2 separate regions of the Homo sapiens genome follow, and region 1 is linked to region 2. The links are contacts of gene promoters, found by promoter capture Hi-C in blood cells and fetal thymus (Javierre and others, 2016). All regions are on one chromosome and are shown on one strand. Each heading gives the region's core, a stretch centred on a gene start or on the middle of the fragment in contact. The rest is flanking DNA. Distances are from core to core; before and after follow the strand shown.

Region 1 (6,963 bases), core at 777-3,276, 150 kb after region 2:
GGTGTTCCTTCTGACTGTACCCTCCTTCTAGGGTTACTAAACTGGACTTCAGGAGTGCGCTAGACATAAGGAACTTTTATGAGAAAGTAATGCAATTATATCCCTAGTGGGCCATCTAAGATTACCAGATTGGCAGATCAAGGAGATGTGACGCCCATAAAAGGCAGTGACATTCAAATGCAGATGCCTTTCCGAAACAAGATAGATCTTTAAATCTGAGGCATTTCCCTAGGCTGGTAATCCTGTCAGTGGGTGAAAAATCATGGATTGAGTGCCCACTATGTATCAGGCATGGGCATGAGGATTACTAAGATGAACAGGAGCCTGACCTCCCCTCAAGGAGGGGACATGGGCAGGTGTTCTTGGACATGCCTTGTGTGTCCATGCAGCCTTGGTGATGGCTGCCCTTCTCCCTGAGTGCTTGCTTGCACACTCTCTCCCCAAGAGTCCACTCTAGGAGGGCGCCTGCCGGGCTCTTCAGCCAGTAATAGATCCTTGCCCTCTGGGTGGGGATGGAGTGGGAGCAGGCTTCTCTCTAGGTTCTAGTTACTACCGTTTGCCAAGGCTTCTCTCACAGTGAGCTGCTTGATACCCACTTTTTTGTTACTTGTTATTTCTGAGTCTAGATTCTTCTGGGAATCCAGTGTCTATACTTGTTCGCTCCTTGTTTAGATTTGAACTTTCAAAAATCCACTATAAACTATATGTGTTCTAAGCTTTGCAGTCTAAAGGTCATTTTCTAGACAGAGAAGACAAAATTGACATTCTGTTAGCTCTGCATCTTTCTACCGTTTGTTATACTCTTTGCTTTAGGCACTGGACCAGCTCCTCTTTAATCATATATATAAAATTTTTTTTTTTGAGATGGAATTTCACTCTTGTTGCCCAAGCTGGAGTGCAATGGCATGATCTTGGCTCACTGCAACCTCCGCCTCCCAGGCTCAAGCGATTCTCCTGCCTCAGTAGCTGGGATTACAGGCGCTACAGATGTGTGCCACCACGCCCAGCTAATTTTTTTGTAGTAGAAACAGGGTTTCACCATGTTAGCGAAGTTGAGCTCAAACTCCTGACCTCAGGTGATCCATCTGCCTCGGCCTCCCAAAGTGCTGGGATTACTACAGGCATGAGCCACTGTGCCTGGCTTATTTATATTTTTTTTGAGACAGGGTCTCCCTCTGTTACTCAGGCTGGAGTGTAGTAGCACAGTCTCTGCTCACTGCAGCCTTGACCTCCCAGGCTCAAGTGATCCTCCCACCTCAGCCTCCCAAGTTGCTGGAACCACAGGTGTGTGCCATCATGCCCAGCTAATTTTTGTGGGTTTTGTAGAGACAGGGTCTCACTATGTTGCCCAGGCTAGTCTCAAAGGACTCAAGTGATCCTCCAGTGTTGGCCTCCCAAATTGCTGGTGTGAGCCACTGCACCCGTCCTAGTAATTTTTGAAGCTTTAATTTCTTGTCAGTCTCACAATATTTGTATATTGAGTCATAATGTTTTTGTATTTACCTGATTATAGACATTTGGAGGGGAAAAATTTGTGCTGGTTGGTGCCATATGCTGATACCTTGATCTGAAGACACAGTTGTACCTCTGAGAGGAGGACCTGGCTTTAAAATGCTCCTGGACTTTACTTCTGTTTACCTGAGGCGAGCATGATTTTCCACAGCTTTTAAATGTCTAGTTCCTCCGCATCAAATCTTTAGCACGTTCGTGCCATGGAATGAGTCTTAGATTCTGTGGTGACCTCAAGAAAAGCATGCATTCTATCTTGACATCACTGTCCCAAATGTAAAATGTTTTTCTCTAGAATTCCCACTCCCACCCCCCATAAGATACATGCCTGATTTTGTAAAATAGTTCCTTTGTCCTTTTTGTCAGCAACAATCTGAAAAAGAATAAGAATTCGGGATGCAAACACATTCTAAGCAGAGAGAAGAGCTTTAGCAAAGACAGAGAGGCAGGAACCAGCCTCAGGAAGAGTGGTAAAGGGAGTGGACAGTGGTGAAGGCTGGCATCCCAGGTGAGCCTGTCTGCAGTGGGGTTTTCTTTGCTATTGCAAACAATGGATTGAACAAGTTGCAGTGGGGTTTGGTTAATAGAATGCTCTGTACCTGGAGCTGATAAAATTGGAGGGCGTGCATGCTGTTGTGTGTCAGGTATTGCGGTGGGTTCCATTCCTATTGAACAGGCTTCATCCTCACAGTGGCCCTGGAAGGAAGGAGTCTACCCACAAGAAATGGGGTGACCTGGGTTCAGTTACTTGCCAAGGTCACACTGGAACTTGGGAACACAGGGTTTTGAAGTTTGACTTGAAAGCGTGTGATCTTCAGTAAATGTTTATAGGATTCATTGCGGAGAGACAGGGTAGATGAAAATGTTGAAACCTGTTCATTGTCCTTGCATGAGATACCAAGAATAGCAAGTGATAGTGAGAAGGAAGGAGAGGAGGAATCTTGATACTTGAGATGGAAATCTATTTGGTTCCTATTTTGGGACCATGTTAGCCCCCATTGTTCTCTCTTTATTTTAAACACCCTATTTTATATATATTTTTGTGAACTCTTTAATACACCGTATTTAATATTTGTCTCTTTCTGCTAGAATGTAAGCTTTTAGGACAGAGACTTTGCCTTTGAACTGTGCCTGATATGAACTAGCCATTTAGATGAAGGACAGAAAGAAGGATTAATGGAGAAAGAAGATGAAAGAAGAATCTAAGGAACACACGGAACACTTGAAAAACAGAAGCTAATGTTGAATACGAGTTTACTTAGAGAGTTTGGAGTAATGCAGGATTATCCTGGTGGCTCAAAACGGGGAGCCACAGCTGAAATTAGGGAGACTGTTGTAATCACTGGGGACAATAACCAGGAATTGTCTGCTTCCAGGTTTGAACAAGCTCTGTGATGATAATACATTGTGAGAAGGAATCCATGTGAAAAACAAGCAGTCTTCATTCTTCAGTAGATTCTGGAATGTCCTGGGTGTAATGGGGGCATCAGACAGTTCTTGTACATGAATGTCATCACTCTACCTCATGGCAGATGTGCCCCCATCTTTTTTTCAAATGGTACTTGAGCTGAATGCTCTCGGCGTACACCGAGAAGTACCATTCAACAGCGCAGGAATCGAGCTTTTGGGTCAGCTGTGGAGGTGCTTTTTGAAGCTAGGTCTCCCTTTACTCTTTCTCCCTTTCTGAGGGTTCTTAGGGGGAAGCTTCTCAAATTTCAGAGCCAGGGAGGGGCATGGCTGTTTCCCAGCAGCTGGTAGGCTTGTATCTGCTCTAGTGTCTGCCTTCACTGTTAGGACACATAGGCCCTCGGGGTTGTGTTTCTGAAGGTGGTCTTAGTCCAGAGCTCTTGGATATATGATTAATAGTGATATGTGATATGTGTGCCTGTGGGCTGGAAGAATAATTGGCTGAAGGATAGGCCCTTCCCTCTGGGAATGGAGTGTGATTTGTGGGGGGAGAGACTTGTACATTTTAGTGTTATCTCAGTGTTTCTTAACCTTGTTTTCATGATCACCTTCTCCAAGAGTTGTTTTAGACATTGTTCCTAGTTACCTCCTATCCCTTGCTAGATTTAGTACAAAGGAATAAGATTTTGTTGGGTAGAGTTGAGCTTTGGAGGGTCCCAAGTTTTTGTATTGTCTTAAGATTTTTTTCACCATTGGTAGAAACCACCACAAGAAACACTTTTCACCTCTTTGGGACACCACCACCCCTGTTGAGAATGCATGCGCTACATACTTGTATATCATTTATTTGTTTATTTTTGTTTTAAAGACAGAGTCTCACTTTGCCACCCAGGCTGTAGTGCAGTGACATGATTATCAGTCACTGCAACCTGGAACTCCTGGCTTCAAGCAATCCTCCTGCCTTGGCCTCCCAAAGTGCTAGGATTACAGGCATGAGCCACCCACCTGGCCTATTTTTTTTTTTTTTTTTTTAAAGAGACGGGCTCCCTATATTGCCCTGGCTGGTCTCGAACTCCTGGGCTCAAGGATTCCTCCTGCCTCAGCCTCCCAAAGTTGCAGGATTACAGGCCTGAGCCACCATGCCTGGCCCAGCCTAATTTTTTTAAAAAAATTATTATTTTGGAATTGGCTGGGCGTAATCCCAGCACTTTGGGAGGCTGAGGTGGGCGGATCACCTGAAGTCAGGAGTTCAAGACCAGCCTGACCAACATGGCGAAACCCCATCTCTACTAAAAATACAAAAATTAGCTGGGTGTGGTGGTGGGCACCTGTAATCCCAACTACTCAGGAGGTTGAGGCAGGAGAATCGCTTGAACCCGGGAGGTGGAGGTTGCAGTGGGCCAAGATCACGCTATGGCACTCCAGCTTGGGTGACAGAGCGAGACTCCGTCTCAAAAAAACAAACAAACAACAACAAAAAACCAATTATTATTTTAGAATTACAAAAGAAAGTGAGGGCTAAAGAAAGGTCATGAAACAAGAAAGGACTGATCTGCATTTGAACTGAAGGGTGACTCCACACTGGTGCTCTTAGCTGTCCTGAGGAGAGAGCCAAGGGAAGCTCTAAGGGCTGAAGCCGCCACCACGACCACAACAGGATGAGCCCTGGACCCAGGCACAGGAACATGAAGAGGAGCAGGTGAAGCTGTCGGAGGAGCGAGAGCAGAGCAGGCCAATCGCTGAATGTAGGGAGGAGGATCAGCTGTATCCTATGCCCTAGGAGGCTTTTTTCTTGGTCTTCATTATCTTCACATGTTGATTGTATCTGGCTAGAGGGATGTTGGAGAGTTTCGGGGAGGAGTCTCCAGCAGGTGTGCCTAGACAGTATTCTCCTCGGTCTCTGGATCATTTGTAAGTGCTCCTTGATGCAAAGAAGGCTGTCAGGCACTGCTTGGAGAATGTGTGCGTGTTTAAGAAAGGAAGGTGGGCATATAAAGAGAGGGGCTGCTGTGGATTTGAAAGAGCCAGGCAGAAAGTCTGCGAAAGCAGCTTGGGAAGGCCAAGAAAATAAATCTTGAAGAAGAATAAAGAAAAGGATGTTTATCAACAACTTGGAAGAGTAATTTTTATTTTATTTTTATTTCTTATTTTTGAGACGGAGTCTTGCTCTGTTGCCCAGGCTGCAGTGCAGTGGCACCATCTCAGCTCACTGCAAGCCCCGCCTCCCGGGTTCACACCATTCTCCTGCCTCAGCCTCCCAAGTAGCTGGGACTACAGGCGCCCGCCACCACACCCGTCTAATTTTTTGTATTTTTAGCAGAGACAGGGTTTCACCGTGTTAGCCAGGATGGTCTTGATCTCCTGACCTCACGATCTGCCCACCTTGGCCTCCCAGAATGCTGGGATTACAGGCGTGAGCCACTGCGCCCTGTCAGGAAGAGTAATTTTTAAGTAAATTAGAGTGAAATTTCCATGAAGTATTAATGAGGTAAGTTTAAGCAATTATTTTAAGCTAACTTTCTTTTGTTGAGAGAAAGAAAATGTCAGCGTTTTTCTGCCAGATGTTGAGAAATTAAAGCTTTTTAGATGAAGATAGTAAATCATTTTTATTGGCCAAAGATTACTTTTTTAAATTGCTCTCAGTTCCTTGATTTTAAAAGATAATGCTGTTTAGCTGGCCTGACTGCATAAAGCTCACTTACTAGAAAAATATTCGAAGTATTTGGATAGGAGAATCCTGTTGCTCCTTTACTTAAAGGAAACCCTTAGCCCACACCAACAGTTATTTGATGTGGCTGCATTCCTAGTCTTAATTTTTAATTGATCATATGGGGCTTTGAGTTTTGCATGCTTGTACATACGAATTTCTTCTGTGCACGTGGTCATATGGTAAGTCTCAAGGACAGCATCACCTGTCCAGAGCTCCCCCCCACAACCACTCATTGGTAGAGCCAGGATTTGAACTGAGGTCCATCTGACTCCAGTGCTTGATTTTTCTATCTCATCACTTCCTTGACAAGAACTGTCAACAGAGAAGGTGAAAACTTCTTACTGGGATCTACTAGGATATTTCAAGTTAGGTCTGTAGTCACTTCGTGGTTTGGGGCATGGCACCAAATCTGTTGGACACATTTTGAACAAAGGATGCATAAATATGCTTTTAATGTTTTTCTGCTTAAATATTAATTGATGTCATTTGGTATGAGAATTACCATCACCATCCTGTGAAATATCCCAAACTACTCTAACATAATTTTTCTCTACATTTGAAGAAACGAGAAAATACTTCTTCAGTTTTTTATTATTTGACCAAATTGTGTAGATAGCTGAGAGTAGGAACGGACCTAGTGCAGGCATCCAGTTTAGACTTCCTCTTGGATCGAGAGAAGTTAGAGGAACTAACCCAGGCCCATAGCAAAGATAGATGGAGCCAGGCATGGCGCCAAGGCAGAACTCCTCTCACCCTAGCATATTATGTTTTTCTTCAGATTGATCAAAATATATCTCCTAGTTGAGAACGCCCTCACTTTTGGGGAAAAAAAAAATCACCTTACAATTAGTATTTGCTTTCCATAGTTAATGCTTGAGGAGTACTCTTTTCTCCTTTTCTTCTTTGCCTATCCCCTTTCATACCACCACCTCCAGTTTATATAGTGAGAATTTATTTTTCTAGGCACCCAGAACAAGACCCCAGTGTAAAAATATAGTCAAGACTTAAACGTGTCTATCGGCTGGACGCAGTGGCTCACGCCTTTAATCTCAGCACTTTGGGAGGCCGAGGCAGGCGGATCACCTGAGGTCAGGAGTTCGAGACCAGGCTGGCCAACATGGTGAAACCCCGTCTCTGCTAAAAACATGAAAATTAGCGTGGCGTGGTGGTGTGTGACTGTAATCCTAGCTATTCGGGAGGCCGAGGCAGGAGAATTGCTTGAACTCGGGAGGTGGAGGTTGCAGTGAGCTGAGTTCACGCCACTGCACTCCAGCCTGGGTGACAGAGCAAGACTCCATCTCAAAAAAAAATATTTTTAAAAAATGTGTCTGCCAATT
Region 2 (6,416 bases), core at 3,631-6,130:
CGAGTGGGTGGATCACCTGAGGTCAGGAGTTCAAGACCAGTCTGACTAATGTGGTGAAACTCTGTCTCTACTAAAAATACAAAAATTAGCCGGGCGTGGTGGCACACGCATGTAATTGCAGCTACTCGGGAGGCTGAGGCAGGAGAGTCGCCTGAACCTGGGAGGTGGAGGTTGCAATGAGCCGAGATCACACAATTGTATTCCAGCCTGGGCAACAAGCGTGAAACTCCACCTGGGGGGAGGTGAGGGGGTGGAGGGAATTTGTGTTGGGGGAAAACTCATGTTTAATTTATCTTTGTTTGTGTTCTTGTATCACTATATACTCTTTCTTACAACAATAAGGGAGGTGGGGTGGAGGAAGCCTTGTAGGTAGGGGGAGCAGCATGACCAGAGGCAAGGAGTGAGTAACGAATAAGGTGAATGCAGAGAATGTTGAAGACATCAACCTGACTGAGGCAGAGAGCTTGTGAAACGAGACTGAAATGGGTGTGATAGGGCTCCTTGATAAGGAGTTTGACTGTTGTGCTTAAATCGTTTATAGATAGGTAGATATTCTATTGTTGTTTTCATAAACAATGTTTTCATTGTCTCAATGAACATAGTTGATTTTTAAATTTATGCTTTCAAAATTAATGTATTAAAATTTTGGAGATTATATTATTTCAGAAACTGAACATTACTCATTTGGTGAAGCTGATAAATATTTGAGGACCTGCAGTGTGCTGAGACCTCTCATAGGAGCTGGGGTTACAGTGGTGAACAAAAGATGTTTCTTAGGAAGGCCCAAGCCCTGCTGATCAGCGCTCATGCCCCCTTCACCTTACTTCTCTACATAGAACCTTCAGTGACTGGCTTCCCTTTTCCCATCCTGCTTTCGTGCCTTATTTCACCTGTACCCTTCTTCCCAGTATTGCTATCACTCTTTGAACACATGTTTCAGATCTTGTCATCTCATGCCCTAACAATCCCCATCTCCACCCAGTGGCCTCCCTACTCCTATCTCTCCATTATCTTCACCTTTCAAGTCATCTCAGCCTTTTCCGGGGTTCTTCCTTATTTTTAAGGCATTGATTTTTCATAACCATTTGCTTACCCTTCACATTTTAGTTTTTCTTACTGTCTTGCATCTTCTTTGTCTTCATATATGTGTCTTGCCCCTTTCTCACCAGTCTTCTTGATAGCAAGAGCTATGTCTTATACTGTTTTGTGCCTTCCTTAGTACCTACTGCTAGTGCTGATTTTATTTTTATACATGTATTATCTGCTTTTGATATAAAAGTTGTATTTATACGAGGGCATAGATTTATTGTTTTCAAATGTTCCTTGTGTCTTCTGAGAAATATACAATTACAGTGCCCCCCCACCCCCAACCTGAAACCATGATATTGGTATAACATGGTCAAATGGATATGTCCATTGTGGGTTTCTTAATCTTAGGACTTCTGATATTTTTTCCAGGTGGGCATACCACTGAGATCCTGAGGCTGCTTGGGAGCTTGTCCAATGCCTACTCACCTAGACATTATGTCATTGCTGACACTGATGAAATGAGTGCCAATAAAATAAATTCTTTTGAACTAGATCGAGCTGATAGAGACCCTAGTAACATGGTAAGTGACAATTTCTATTTCTAAGAAAATTACAAGTTGCACATTGAGTTTAATTGTCTCTAGTAATAATCTCATGGCACTTCAGTGCCCTACCCACAATGGGCAGTCAAATGTTTGCTGGTGATGAAATACATTTCCTTTGCTACCAAAAGATATGAATTTCTATAAAATAAATCTTCAAATTAAAAAATGGTTGCTTAGCACATCAAAAAGTTTATCCACCATGATCAAGTTGGCTTCATACCCGGGATGCAAGGTTGATTCAACATACGCAAATCAATAAATGTAATTCATCACATAAACAGAACTAAAGACAAAAACGACGTAATTATCTCAATAGACACAGAAAAGGCCTTTGATAAAATTCAACATCCTTTCGTGTTAAAAACTGTCAATAATCTAGGTATTGAAGGAACATACCTCAAAATAATAAGAGCCATATATGACAAACCCAGAGCCAATATCATACTGAATGGACAAAAGCTGGAAGCATTCCCCTTGAAAATTAGCACGAGACAAAGATGCCCTCTCTCACCACTCCTATTCAACATAGTATTGGAAGTTCTGGCCAGGGCAATCAGGAAAGAGAAAGAAATGAAGTGTATTCAGATAGGGAGAGAGGAAGTCAAATTATCCTTGCTTGCAGATGACATGATCCTATATCTAGAAAATCCCATTGTCTCAGCCCAAAAACTTCTTAAGCTGATAAGCAACTTTAGCCAAGTCTCAGGAAACAAAATCAATGTGCAGAATCACTAGCATTCCTATACACCAACAACAGGCAAGCCGAAACCCAAATCATGAATGAACTCCCATTCACAATCACTGCAAAAAGAATAAAATACCTAGGAATATAGCTAACAAGGGAAGTGAAGGACCTCTTCAAGGAGAGCTACAAACCACTGCTCAGTGAAATCAGAGAGGACACAAACAAATGGAAATACATTCCATGCTCATGGATAGGAAGAATCAATATTGTGAAATGGCTATACTGCCCAAAGTAATTTATAGATTCAATGCTATTCCCATTAAACCACCATTTACATTCTTCACAGAATTATAAGAAACTATTTTAAAATTCATATGGAACCAAAAAGGAGCCCAAATAGCCAAGACAATCCTAAGCAAAAAGAACAAAGCTGGAGGCATCATGCTACCTGACTTCAAACTATACTACAAGGCTACAGTAACCAAAACAGCGTGATACTTGTACAAAAACAGATACAGACCAATGGAACAGAATAGAGAACTCAGAAATAAGACCACACATTTACAACCATCTGATCTACAAACCTGACAAAAACGAACAATGGGGAAAGAATTTTCTATTTTGCAAGGAGTTGAACTGGCTAGCCATATGCAGAAAATTGAAGCTGGATTCCTTCCTTACACTTTATACAGAAACTAACTCAAGGTGGATTAAAGACATAAATGTAAAACCCAAAATTATAAAAACCCTAGAAGAAAATCTAAGCAGTAGTATTCAGGACACCAGCATGGGCAAAGATTTTATGATGAAAATGCCAAAAGCAATTGCAACAAAAGTAAAAATTGAAAAATGTGATCTAATTAAACTAAAGAGCTTGTGCACAGCAAAAGAAACTCATCAGAGTGAACAGACAACCTACAGGATTGGAGAAAATTTTTGCAATATGTCCATCTGACAAAGGTCTAATATACAGAGTCTACAAGGAACTTAAACAAATTTACAAGAAAAAAACTGTTATTAAAAAGTGGGCAAAGGACATGAACAGACACTTCTCAAAAGAAGACATTCATGCAGCCAACAAACATATGAAAGAAAGCTCAACATCACTGATCATTAGAGAAACGCAAATCAAAACCACAATGAGATACCATCTCACACCACTCAGAATGGCGATTATTAAAAAGTCCAGAAACAACAGATGTTGGTGAGGTTGTGGAGAAAAAGGAATGCTTTTACAGTATTGGTGGGAATGTAAATTAGTTCAACCATTGTGGAAGATAGTGTGGCGATTCCTCAGAAATCTAGAGGCAGAAATACCACTTGACCTAGCAATCCCATTGCTGGGTATATACCCAAAGGAATGTAAATCATTCTGTTGTAAAGATACATGCACACATATGTTCACTGCAGCACTATTCACAATAGCAAAGACATGGAATCAACCCAAATGCCCATCAATGATAGAATGGATAAAGAAAATGTGGTACATATACACTATGAAATACTATGCAGCAATAAAAAGGAACAAGATCATGTCCTTTGCAGGGATATGGATGGAGCCAGAAGCCGTTATCCTCAGCAAACTAATGCAGGAACAGAAAACTAAATACTACACGTTTTCACTTATAAGTAGGAGCTGAACAATGAGAATACATGGGTACATATGGGGGAACAACACACATTGGGGCCTGTTGAAGGGAGGGGTTGGGGGAGGTAGAGCATCAGGAAGAATAGTTAGTGGATGCTGGACTTAATACCTAGGTAATGGATTAATTTGTGCAGCAAACCACCATGGCACACGTTTACCTGTGTAATAAACCTGCACATCCTGCACACATACCCTGGAACTTAAAAGTTGAAGGAAAAAAAATGGTTGCTTAATTTTTTGCATATTTTTTATTCTTTTAAATAGAGAAAGCAGTTTTTCGTTGAATTCCAATAGTGAAAATTATTTTATTTTTACTTACATACACGAAGCATCCTGTTCATGTGCTTATTGGCTCTTCATTAAAGCTCTCTATCAATGTGTTACGTTTATTGATAATTTGATTTATCTATGACTGCTGTTTCTTCTCCAAATCATACTTGTGTCTGCCTTTGAAATTATTAGTACTTCTTTACCCCTGGTTGCTCACTTCATTATAGCATTTTAGTCAGTGTTTAGAGATTTTTTTTTTTAAGTGAAACTACTTCTTAATTAAGGAAGGAAACTAGAGCTGTTCCTTATGTAGAGTGAGTGCCTTTATCCATCCCTCTCTCTGGGAACGGCCCAGCTGCAGGGCTGCTCTGGATAGTTCAGGGGTGGACAGCTGGCCTAACTCAGACCAATCGAAGTCTTTCTCTGAGCTTTCTGGGCTTGGAGACCTAGAGAATGGAATCAGTCTGTCTTCAGGCAAGCTCTGTAAATGATAAAGCTTGAAAGCTGCTGACAGTCATGTTTTCACTTAGAAGATAAAGGTAGTCTATAGATAGAAGAATGAAGATAATGTACAGGAAGAGAGGAGAAGCCAGTGTCTGGTGCTGCCTTCAGTGGCTCAAGAGGCCCTGCTATAGCTGTGTTGGTCCTGGATTGGTGGTTCTTTTCTTGGGAAATCAGGACCCACTCCTAGAACCCTACCCCACTCCCTTTGTTCCCACCTTTGTGACATACGCACACTCTCTCTCTCTCTCTCTCTCAAGGCTGTTTGTGTTAACTTTTGGTCATTTGTAAACCTTATCCCCAACTAACATACTACTAAAATGTATTCTCAAAAAATCCACGTCAAACAAGATTGGTATATAAATCTGCTTGCTATCATTCAGCTATAGCAAAATGTGTGGTACTTTTTTTCCTCTGTGGAAAATAAGCCAAAGTGATTTCGTTTTTGTTTTAGGAATCAATACTGTATTAGTTTCTTAGGGTTGCTGTAACAAAACTGGGTTTTTGCCACCCATAAACTGGGTGGCTTAAAATAACAGAAATGTATTTTCTCATAGCTCTGAAGGGTAGAAGTCTGAAATCAAGGTGTCATGGGGCCATACTCCCTCCGGAGGTTCTGAAGAAGAATCCCTCCTTGCTTCCTCCTGGCTTCTAGTGGTGGCCAGCAATGCTTGGCCTTCCTTAGCTTGCAGCTACGTCACTCTAATCTCGGCTTCCACCATCATATGACCTTTTCTGTATCTCTGTCTTCACATGCCTTTTTTATGAGGATACCGGTTGGATTTAGGGCCCACTCTAATTCAGAAGGACCTCATCTTAACTTGATCATATCTGCAGTGCTCTTATTTCTAAATAAGGTCACATTCATAGATTCCAGGTGGACATGAATTTTAGGGGGACAGTAGTTATATACTGTGCATCACAACACTTAGAACCAAGTAAGTTGGGTTTGCTTCACATTAATAGTCTTAACTATAAAAATATTTTGGATTTTTATTTTTATTTATTTGTTGTTTTTTTTTTAAACAGAGTCTCACTTTGTCACCCAGGCTGGAGTGCAGTCGTGTGATCTCAGCTCACTGTAGTCTCCACCTCCCAGGTTCAAGCGATTCTCCTGCCTCAGCCTCCTGAGTAGCTGGGAGTACAGGTGCCTACTATCATGTCTGGCTATTTTTTTTTTTTTTTAATAGAGACAGGGTTTCACCATGTTGGCCAGGATGGTCTCGATCTCCTGACCTCGTGATCTGCCCACCTCAGCCTTCCAAAGTGCTGGGATTACAGGCGTGAGCCACTGTGCCCAGCCAGATTTTGGATTTTTATAGTGCCATTATTTTGTATTTTCGAAGTGCAATGTAGGACTAAGCATCTCTGTTCAACTTCCTTTTACTAACAGTCGCCTACTGGGGCAATGCAGCCACTGTTAGAGAGAAAATTCTGCTCCATTCCTAAAAGAGCCTCTACTCATGAATCTGAAGCTGGGAAGAGCTCTGCAGAGATGCAAATGAGCTGTTGAGGGAGATAGCGTGAACATTTCTGCTGGCCACCACTGGGTACCACCACGTGTGTGTGTGTGTGTGTGTGTGTGTGTGTGTGTGTGTGTGTGTGTGTTTGTGTGTGTATGTATAGGAGGGTGGTGAAGGACAGAAAGACAAAGAGGCAGAGACAGACACCTTCCTGC

Evidence for each region. Contacts are between HindIII fragments. The CHiCAGO score rates a contact against its expected background, and 5 or more counts as called.
Region 1: a fragment that was not itself captured here is called in contact with the fragment with the promoter of ALG14-AS1 in region 2 in 3 of 17 cell types (endothelial precursors, activated CD4 T cells and fetal thymus); the score reaches 5.5 in endothelial precursors.

Annotation. Positions count from the first base shown.
Region 1 is chr1:94,905,965-94,912,927 of GRCh38, reverse strand. The region is part of intron 1 of CNN3 (calponin 3); the gene reads left to right. Among named protein-coding and RNA genes, the nearest start is that of CNN3-DT, 17 kb to the left of the region's middle. RefSeq lists enhancers at 1,170-2,369, 1,568-2,504. The HindIII fragment of the contact is 1,164 bases long and covers 1,445-2,608 here.
Region 2 is chr1:95,060,060-95,066,475 of GRCh38, reverse strand. It overlaps ALG14-AS1 (ALG14 antisense RNA 1), which reads right to left and starts at 4,880. Exons shown (of 2, transcript NR_132786.1): 1 at 4,287-4,880. ALG14 (ALG14 UDP-N-acetylglucosaminyltransferase subunit) reads left to right here. Exons shown (of 4, transcript NM_144988.4): 2 at 1,459-1,610. The HindIII fragment of the contact is 7,319 bases long and covers 4,736-6,416 here.